Regions from separate parts of the Homo sapiens genome. Here region 1 is linked to region 2. Evidence: promoter capture Hi-C in human tissues and cell types (Jung and others, 2019). All regions are on one chromosome and are shown on one strand. Each heading gives the region's core, a stretch centred on a gene start or on the middle of the fragment in contact. The rest is flanking DNA. Distances are from core to core; before and after follow the strand shown. Region 1 overlaps HIRA (histone cell cycle regulator). Region 2 holds the start of DGCR2 (DiGeorge syndrome critical region gene 2).

Region 1 (4,807 bases), core at 2,187-4,686, 260 kb after region 2:
TATCTGATTATGGATAATGTTTTTTTCTTCTTTGGGCTTTTACTATTTTCTAAATTTAACCATGTGTAAATATACCTTTCATAATCATAAAAATAACTTTATGAAAGAAAAAAAAGAAAAAAAAAATCAGCCTGACTGACTGCTTTCCTTGTGCGTCCTCTGGTGCCCTGGCAACAGTGAAGTGCAGCAGATGTGCTGGCCGCCTTAGCACTCCCACCCCTCACATGATTCAGGTGTGCACAAGGGCTCCAGGAGGAGTATGGGCTTTGAGACTGCGGGAAGCTGAGCTTCACTTCCTTGCTTCCATGTTCTACCAGTCAGGTTGTGAAGGACCCGTGAAGATCCTCACTGTGAAAGTGTTAACCGCTGAAAGAAGACAGGAAGATCTCGCCAGATAAGACCATGAAAGGGGAATGAACCAGTACCCAGTGTCCAGCTGTGCTATGCAGAGAGGCGTGATTCTTCTCCGGCCATCTGCTGTCCGAGTCTCAACTTGTTTCTTCAAAAGATTCTGGCAAAGCAGAGTTACATAAATGAATGCAAAAGTTTTGGCCAACTATTTCCAAATATTAAAAAATAAAGTCTCTTTTTTTCCTGGTGATAAGAACACTAAGCATAAGATCCACCCTCTTAGCAAAGTTTTAAGTATGCAATATCATATTGTGAACTGTAGGCACTATGCTGTAGGGGAGATTTCTAGGACTTATTCATCTTCTATAACTTAAACTTTATACCCTTTGGCTAATAACTCCCATTTTCCTCTGACCCCAGTATTCACCATTCTATTCTCTGTCTCTGTGAGTTTGACTATTTTAGATTCCTCATATAAGAGGTATCAGGCAGGCCAGGCACGGTGGCTCACGCCTGTAATCCCAGCACTTTGGGGAGGCCGAGGTGGACAGATCACAAGGTCAGGAGATCGAGACCATTCTGGCCAACATGGTGAAACCCCGTCTCTACTAAAAATACAAAAATTAGCTGGGCGTGGTGGTGTGTAACTGTAATCCCAGCTACTCAGGAGGCTGAGGCTGAGGCAGGAGAATCGCCTGAACCAGGGAGTCGGAGGTTGCAGTGAGCCAAGATTGCGCCACTGCACTCCAGCCTGGTGACAGAGCGAGACTCCATCTCAAAAAAAAAAAAAAAAAAAAAGAGAGATATCATGCGGTATTTGTCCTTCTGTGTCTGGCTTATCATTAATTTGTACACACTAAGTATGTATAACTTTTTATATGTCAATTGTACTTCAACACGGTAGGTTTAAAAATAATAAGGCTTCTAAGGAAATGTATTCTAAATTGCCCTCCTGGTACAACTAAATAAGACACCCAAGCAAAGAACAAGCAGTGGGTACATGCCACACTGGCCGCCTCGCACAACAGCCATGGGACCAATGAAAGGGCTAAAGGACTGAGCTCTGTACCCGTGAACCACACATCTGTCACTAAGCTAGGGATTTTCTTTCTTTCTTTTTTTTTTTTGAGACAGAATCTCACTCTGTCTCCCAGGCTGGAGTGCAGTGGCGCAGTCTCGGCACACTGCAATATCTGCTTCCCGGGTTTAAGCAATTCTCCTGCTCAGCCTCCCATGTAGCTGGGATTATAGGCATGCACCACCATACCCGGCTATTTTTTTTTTTTTTAAGTAGAGACAAGGTTTCACCATGTTGGCCAGGCTGGTCGGAACTCCTGACCTCAAGTGATCCGCCTGCCTCAGCCTCCCAAAGTGCTGGGATTACAGGGGTGAGCCACTGCGCCTGGCCTGAGGTAGAGATTTTCAAACTGACTTTCAAAATAGAATCCTTCCTTCCACAGAAAGCTTGTAACTAGGGGTTTTCTCTCATACTTTATATCTGAATTGCCTGGAGGAGGTTTGTCAGCCTACACAGGCTCCTGGAGATGGTTTATACTCCCCAGGCAATAACGTTCCCTACCCTTTTCCCGCCCCATTTCCAACCCCTTCCCATCAAACATGGCTTCCAGATGAAGAAGGGGGAGCCCATAGAAGTCTCCTAAGGGCAGAGCCTGAAATCCACTGTTGTTAGCATCTAGGATTTTTAGAAAGACCAGAAGGATAAAATTCGTAAGTTCTTACAAGAGATGACCTCCTCTGGGCTCCTGGGGATAAGGAGGCCTTTGATAAAGAGGATCCAGGCCCCATTACTGCATCATGCAGCAGTGGGCAAGGGGCCAACAGGCCCGAGGCTGGCTAACCCACAGATCCCGTACCACTCTAAACAAACCCCTTCCTTACCACCACTGGTGTCTGCCCCTCACCCTGTCCCTGGGCATATGTCCATGTCTTTAGCGCCACCAGGCAGGGCTCTCACCTTCCTGATATCTTCAAGACTCTCCCCGTTGACAACGCCTGCGACTGAGGTGGCTGAGCCCATCTCCCTGGTCGCAGCACTCTTCTGGTCCAGCTGCTGCTGCTGCTGCCTTCGCTGGTACTTGAGCATCTCAGGGTTCTCAATGACGGCTGTGGAGAGCTGGGCCTCGGTCATGATGGCTAGGCTCTTGCCATAGGTGGACTGGTGAATGCGGCTCTGGGGAAGCAAGGAGAGGCATGACATGCCAGCATGAGTGCCAGTGTGGCCAGTGCTGCCCACCAGCAGGCAAACTACAGCAGGGCTCTCCTGGCTCTGAGTGGAGAAGGGACCCAAGGCCAACTCCCCATCGCCTCCCATCCTATTCTGCCTGTCCCTCATTCGACAGCTCTGTTGATGTCTCATGCCCACCCTTGATTTTTATGGCCTCCCTTGTATCTGTAGCTGGGATGACAGTAAATGAGACAGCCAACAAGACAACACCTGCCCCACAGTCTGGTGGAGAACAAATGACAATCCACAGTGCTTCAGTGGAAAGGAAGATACTCAAGGTGCTAACTTAAGGCTCTTAAATCACTCCTAGGACCCAAATGATTTTGGGAATCAGATCCTAGAACAAAAGTCTACTTTCACAGCTCATCTGCAGCCATAAGCCCTGTGGTTGGAAGTCCCCATTGGCCTGCTTAGTGTCTCTAAGAGTATGGGAAGGCCTGGCACAGCAGGGCTGGGGAGCCTCCTTTACTCCCACCCCTCCTAGTATGTCATCATACTCCCCTCCTTCTAGGCCCTCATAGTCTTGTGCCCTAACAAGCTAGACAGGAGCCTCATGAGAGCAGAGATGGTGTCCCCAGCACACTGTAGTGACTGCTGTACATGAAAGTGCATGAGGAACACACTTCCATGGGATGTGCAAATGTCCAATGTGGGATTCTGCTCAAGAACAGGGACTGTGGTTAACAGGACATCTGCTTTACAGCAGAGCATGGGTTGAGAGGCAGCGTTCCAAGAGAGGTGCCTTGGGACCTGCTCCTGCAGGGCTTGAATGTGGCCAGGAACCTCCTTTTCTTGCCATCTTGGCTCCTGCCCTTCTCTCCTGAGTCTATCCCCTGGAATCTCGAAGCAGAATTCAGTGTTTGGCCAGGGTTTCCCTAGTGTTCCTCCAACATGGAGTCCCAGCCTGACTTGGGAAATGGTAAGCAGATGGGTTATTAGGCTCCCAGAGTGACTCCAAGGGAGTGCATAGTGATCCCAGGTACCTGATGACAGTGACAAGGTTGGAGGAGGACCTGAGGCCTCTGAGATACTCATTCCTTCATGGAAAAATGATGGGGTGGCAGGCCCCATTCTAAGTGTAGTCATTAAGGCAGACCTCTCCCCCAAAGGGGTTCACATTTTAGTGGGGAGGTCACACTGTAGGTTAAGAGGAAGCTTCCACCAGCAAATAAGGTCATGAGGAGAGCTGCCAGCCTGCTCTGGGCTTTCACAGAGCTCCCTTCAGACACATACACACAACCCACCAAGTGGGGGCAGGTTTCTAAGCCTCTGGTAGGTGAAGCAGGGCTTTTCTCAAAGCCTGGCAGAAGGGCAGAGAGACCCCATCACCCCAGCAGAGCACAGAGGGGAGGCAGCCTGGCCCAGAGGCAGCAGGCCTTGTTCACTCTTCTGACCTAAGGGTCACATACAGTCTGGGCAAAGAGCCATGCTATTTTCTGAGGCTTAGTTTCCATATCCACGAAATGGATGAGCCTTGCCTTGAAGGGTTTTGTGCAATTTAAATGAAATCATATGTGCAAAACACATTCCCAGAGCCTGGCAGACAATGCGTTCTAAGAAATGACCAATATTACTACCATGAAGGTGAAAGTGACATGAGCAGGGGCCCCTGAGGAGTCACTTCAGCTCTTTCCCAGGGCAAAAACCTCCCAGTGGATGGCCTATTATCAGCTCAAAAAGAGATGCCTAAAATAGTTCTACTCTTAACTCCAGGACTTATTTCTGAAATGGGGACTCGTTTTTTAATTAATCTATTTTGTAAAGAAGGATTACAAGATATAAAAGATGAATACCCCATTACATGTTAAGAAATGACTTGTCTGTGTATCTCACAAGAAGAGGGTGTAGTCAAAGGGGTCTCTCAGAGCTATTGTGGCAATGGCCACAGAGCACCCAGCAGCACAAGAGCCGTCAGCCTACCTTCTCCTCCTCGCTCAGGGGATCGCCAAGCTCATCCTGGGAGAAGTCGAGGAATGCCACAGAGCCGTCCATAGAGCATACCAAGATGCCCAGCCCATTCAGAGTCCTGAAAGACATGGCCATCAGCAGCCTGGTAGCAAGAGCCCCAGGCAGACACATGTGCCGCAGTAGCTGGCCTGTGAGGATGGTGGGCAGTGTTCTAGGGAGATGCTGGAAACTCCTGGTTCCCTTCTGTGGCCTGGTTCCCTTCTTTGGCCTGGGCGGGGGGGGGAGGGGGCGACAATTGTATCC
Region 2 (5,122 bases), core at 820-3,319:
GGCCACCTCCACCCACCTCTGGGACCCCACACTCCAGGGTATTCAACACACAGGAGTGTGACAAGTGACTTACACCTGGCCTCTGTTCCACATCAGGCACTCCTAAAAGGAGGGGCTTGTTCTTGTCACTTGGATTCCCTAGGGATGGGCAGGGGGCAAGCACCCACAGGCACTTTCTCAGTTGCTGCTGGCCAGTTGGCAGGCTATGTGAAAAGGCTGGCAAGGAAAAAGGAGTCGGGGACGTCAGTCACCTCTATCACCCAGGCAGGAGATGCTGGGCCTGGAACCAGAGGCACCCCAAAGAAGCCAGGCATAATATGGCCTCACCTGAGCCCGGTGACCTCATCTGCAAAACTGGGACTCAAGAATCAGAAAACGGTGACCTTCTACCTCTCTACACGTACATATATGTTTTCTAAAGAAGTTAATCACAAGAATCCACAAACCCATTGGTTCTGACCTCCAAGAGCCTATATGATACCCTCCTCCACAGGTAGCCCTTTTCCTGGCTTCTGTTCTTACCAAGGCCACCCCACAACTAGTCATCCCGCTGCCCAGAGAGCAGCCAAAAGCAGTGAGCAACTAGCTCTACATGGGGAGACCAGAGAAGCATCACTGAATCTGTCCAGGTTGAGCACCGGTCAGGGCCTTGGCCACCAGGCAGGCACTAGGGAGGAGGCAGACATTCCACATAGATGACACAAGCGCAGAGCCAAGAGGTGCGGTGTATCTGGGCTGGGAGCCTGGCTAGGGCACAGGAGAGGGCCACACACCCCGTGCTCCCACACCCAGGTCATCAGAGAAGATGGCCCTGGCACTTCTGCCTTCATGGGACCTTTCCTCCATTAAGAAATATTAAGAGTCATGCTTTTTCACTGTATTAGTATAAAGATGACTGTATTAATATACATACGAAAACATTTTATTTGACCTAAAAGTTCATTTTTTTTCTGCTGACTTTAAAAAAAAATAAAATAACATTCGAAGGCTACTAAAAGTACCGTGGGCAAGTGATACCAGGATTCCTGTGCCTGATGGATACATCGGCCCTGCATTTAGGGAGTTTGATTTTTTGGTGCAGTTCAAGGGGAGGTACACCGAAATAGGTAGAAAAGGGTCTCCTGGTTGCCACGGTTCTGATTCCCCACCACAGACTTAAGAACACACTAGCTCCGAGGGGAGTTCCAAAGCACGGACTCATTCATCACATACACGCAGCACGGCTAAGGGCCCCGCACAGTGGCGAGGTCTCTGCTCCCGGGACGCTCGCGCCGGCCACACAACGCTAGGCTGACTCCTGGTGCCTCCTCTAGGCCCGGTGGGACCTGAGGACTTCCTTAGCGCAACGTCTCACTGAATGACAGCCACAACCACCGCTGTCCAGGCGAGGAGTTTCCAGGACTGAGAGGCTGGCACTAGGCCACTGCTGGGAGGACGTCTGTGAAACCAGGTGCCCCTGAGAGCCACTGTCCCCAGCCCGACTCCGACGCTGGACTGGCGAGAGGGTGCGCCCGTGGCGTAGCTCCTGGCCGCCGCCGCTCCCGGGAAGGGCCCAGAGGCAACATCCTGGACAGCAGAGCTGCACGAAGTCCGAGGCGCCGCGAGCCCAGGTAAGCTCCAGCAGGCGTCCGCAGAGAGTGCCAGGCGGCCCGCGAGCCAGGCCCCGCCCGCCCCTGCCCCAGGCGCGGCCCCTGCAGGAGGGCGCCGCGGGTGAAAGGAGGTCCCGGGGCGACCCCGGCCCCGCTCGCCGCCCAGCCCCCACACCGCCCCCATCGCGCGGCGCACCTGGCCGCAGCGGCTCGGTGACAGTGAGCACGAGCAGGAAGAGCAGCAGGAAGGCGCCGCTGTCTGCCTTGGGCACCATTTATCCTCCGTTCATCGTCCCCGGGGCGGCTGGAAGGCCGGACCAGGCCGGACTGAGGGTCAGGGGACCGTGCCAAGCGGAGGGTCAGGCGGAGCTGAACCTGGGCGAGGCGCGGAGAGGCGGCGGGAAAGAGCTTCGGCTGGGCCGCGGGCTGGCGCACACTCTCGGCTGCAACCTCAGGCACCGACTCCAGCTGCGCGCAAGATGGCGGCCGTCCTGCTCGGCTCCGCGCCGCGCCGCCCCGCCCCGCCTCCCGCCCGCGACGCAGGCGCGGGCCAATGACCGTCAAGATGGGGGGCGGGGCCAGAGCCAAAGCCCTCCGAAGAGGGTGAGGCCTAAGGTCGCGACGGCGGAGGGCGGGGACCTAAGGGCGGGGACTGAGGGGCGGGCTCTAAGGGAAGGGCGGGACCATACGGAGTGAGGCGTGCCATTGGTTAAGCAGAGAGGCAGGGCCGGGGCCGGGGCCTGAGCGGCGGGGCCACCGAAGGGAGTAGGGTCTCTGGACGCCGGTTAGGGACGGCGGGCGCGGGACGGCAAGGATGGACATCGAAAGGCGCGGGGCATGGGGCGGGGCGCCGAGGGGTCGCGCGGGTGGGGAGCGGAGAGAACGAAGTGGGAACCTGGCTGGGACTCCAAGGGTCTTCACACCTGCAAGCTCAGGTCCCGTGAGCAGCCCAAAAGTGCGCCCCAAAGGGGTCTTTTTAAGGCCGAACCGCTGTGGAGGAGGGAGGGCCTGCCGGTTCTGAGGGTGGGGAAAGAGGAACAGGAATGGCCTAAGAGAGTGTCAGGCAAAGAGAGACCGGGAAGGCCAGGTCCTGGAGACTGCAGCGAAGCCGGCTCCCTGGAGGACCTGCCTACACAATGGCTAGGGGAAGGCCACATGTGCAGGAAAGAAAGCTAGGCAGAGAGGAGGCTCAGCGCCCCTGCGAACAGTGCTCCAAGTGCCACTTCTCCCGTCATCACCAACAGGGTGAACCTTGGAGGGCAGTGTCGGCGAAGAGTCCAACTCTGTAAAATATTTGAAGACATTTCTTCTGAGCCAATATGTGACCAATAGCCTGGGACACAGCCCCAGGAGATCCTGACAAGTGCCCAAGGGGGTAGGGCCACAGCTTGGTTTTATACATTTTAGGGAGACAAGACATCAATCAGCACATGTAAGATATACATTGGTTCAGTCGGAAAAGGCGGGACAACTTGAAAGTGGGGGGTGGAGGGGGGCTTCTAGGTCATGCGGATTGGCAGTTGGTTCAAAGAGTTTATCTAAAGACCTGGAATCAATAAAAGGGACTGTCTACATTAAGGGGTTGTGGAGACCAAGTTTCTTAGGCAAATGAAGCCTCCAGGTATCAGGCTTCACAGAGAAAAGACTGTTAATGTTTCTTATTAAAAAGTGCCAGACTCTGCCGGGTGTGGTGGCTCACGCCTGTCATCCCAGCACTTTGGGAGGCCAAGGCGGGCGGATCACCTGAGGTCAGGAGTTCAAGATCAGCCTGGCCAACATGGTGAAACCACATCTCTACTAAAAATACAAAAGTTACCCAGGCGTGGTGGCACACGCCTGTAATCCCAGCTACTCAGGAGGCTGATGGCAGGAGAATCGCTTGAACCGGGGAGGCAGAGGTTGCAGTGAGCCAAGATCATGCCACTGCACTCCAGCCTGGGCAACAGAGTAAGACTCTGTCTCAAAAAAAAAAAAAAAAAAAAGGAAAAAAAAAAGGAAAAATAAATAAAAGGTGCCAGACTCTAGTTAATTCTCTCAGGAGAAAAGACCTTGAAAGGGATAGGGATTCTCTACAGAATGTAGATTTTCCCCACAAAAAACAGCTTTGCAGAGCGACTTCAAAATATGTGAAAGAAACCTGTTTTGCAGTAAAATATGTGTTTCCTTCCGGGCCTGCTGTCATGCTGGTATCTTACTGCCACAGAGTCTGTTGTCAGTCTTCAAGTCTCTGTGTCGATGTTACACTGCTTAGCTGTGCCTGAAACCTGAAGGGAGGAGGGATAATGAGGCCTGACTCCCACTTCCTATCACGGCCTGAAATAGTTTTTCAGGTTAAGTTTGGAATGCCCTTGGTGGAGAGGAGGGGTCCATTCAGATGGCTGGGGGGTTAGAGTTTTATTTTTGGTTTCCAGGAGACAGTAGTTGGGGTGTCCCCAGCGGGAAGGAGAAGGAGGCTGTCTGGAAGGAGGAGAACCAAGAATGCACAAAGGCCTGGCAGTGGGCAGTCAGCGTTAGGGAAGAAGGTGAAGGAGCAGAGAAAAGGGGGAAGGGCCACGGCAGGTGGGGACCCAACCCAACATGAGTGACAACCAGCCCGCCCTACCAAGTCATCCTGAGGGGCCCAGGGTTCCACTTGGCTCCTGTGAGAAAGGGGTGCTCACTCCCTCTAGGTGGATGAGGCCAAAGTCAAATCCAAGGCTAGGATAGTCATGTGACTCCTACTCCCCTAGGGCATAGCCCGGAACAAGTGCTGGACACAGAGCCTGGCACAGCAGAGGGGCTCCACTGCCAGAAAAAACAATGGCCACACTCTCCAGTGCTGCCCCTGCTGCTTGTACTGTCCTCAGAGCAGCCACCAGTGCTCAGGGTGGCATCCAGTCCCCGCCTTTAGCCCCCAGCCCCAGATCTGCCCTGGGAGCCCAGCCAGGGGCAGAAAAAAAACTAGTTCATTGAGTGCCAGGGAGCCCTGCCCAAGGACATGGCGTGCAAGATGTTCCACCAACTCTCCTCAGCCATTAAATACTGCCACGACCTGGACATCATGCACCAGAACCTCAAGTGTTAGAACCTTCTCCTCGACAAGGACTTCAACATCAAGCTGTTCTACTTCAGGTTCTCCAAGCTCTGCCTGCGGGATGACAGTGGCCAACAGAGATTAAGCAAGAACTTCTGCGGGTTGGTGGCATATGCAGCCCCCGAGCTGCTGCAGGGCATCCCCTACCAGCCCATGGTGTATGACATCTGGAGCCTGGGCATGATCCTCTACATCATGGTCTGCAGCTCCATGCCTTACGACTCCAACATCAGGAAGATGCTGCGTATCCAGAAGGAGCACCGCGTGGACTTCCCACACTCCAAGAACCTGACAGACGAGTGCAAGGACCTCATCTACTGCATGCTGCAGCCCGACGTCAGCCAGCGGCTGCACATCCATGACACCCTCAGCCAATGCTGGGTGCAGCCCAAGGCACAGGGACTGCCCTCTATGGTCTTCAACAAGGAGGGGGAAAGCTCCCAGGGAACTGAACTCTTGT

Evidence for each region. The method cuts DNA at HindIII sites, captures the fragments that hold promoters and counts their contacts. A contact is called where the count stands out against the background at its distance.
Region 1: a contact is called between a fragment that was not itself captured here and the fragment with the promoter of DGCR2 in region 2, in 2 of the 25 tissues and cell types used here (H1 embryonic stem cells and dorsolateral prefrontal cortex).

Annotation. Positions count from the first base shown.
Region 1 is chr22:19,383,195-19,388,001 of GRCh38, forward strand. HIRA (histone cell cycle regulator) reads right to left here. Exons shown (of 25, transcript NM_003325.4): 11 at 4,517-4,622; 12 at 2,327-2,542; 13 at 426-511. Among named protein-coding and RNA genes, the nearest start is that of HIRA, 46 kb to the right of the region's middle. The HindIII fragment of the contact is 6,076 bases long and covers 399-4,807 here.
Region 2 is chr22:19,120,343-19,125,464 of GRCh38, forward strand. It overlaps DGCR2 (DiGeorge syndrome critical region gene 2), which reads right to left and starts at 2,070. Exons shown (of 10, transcript NM_005137.3): 1 at 1,786-2,070. The coding sequence starts at 1,864. It also overlaps the pseudogene TSSK1A. RefSeq lists an enhancer at 1,429-1,930 and silencers at 1,715-1,834, 1,955-2,394. The HindIII fragment of the contact is 22,645 bases long and covers 1-5,122 here.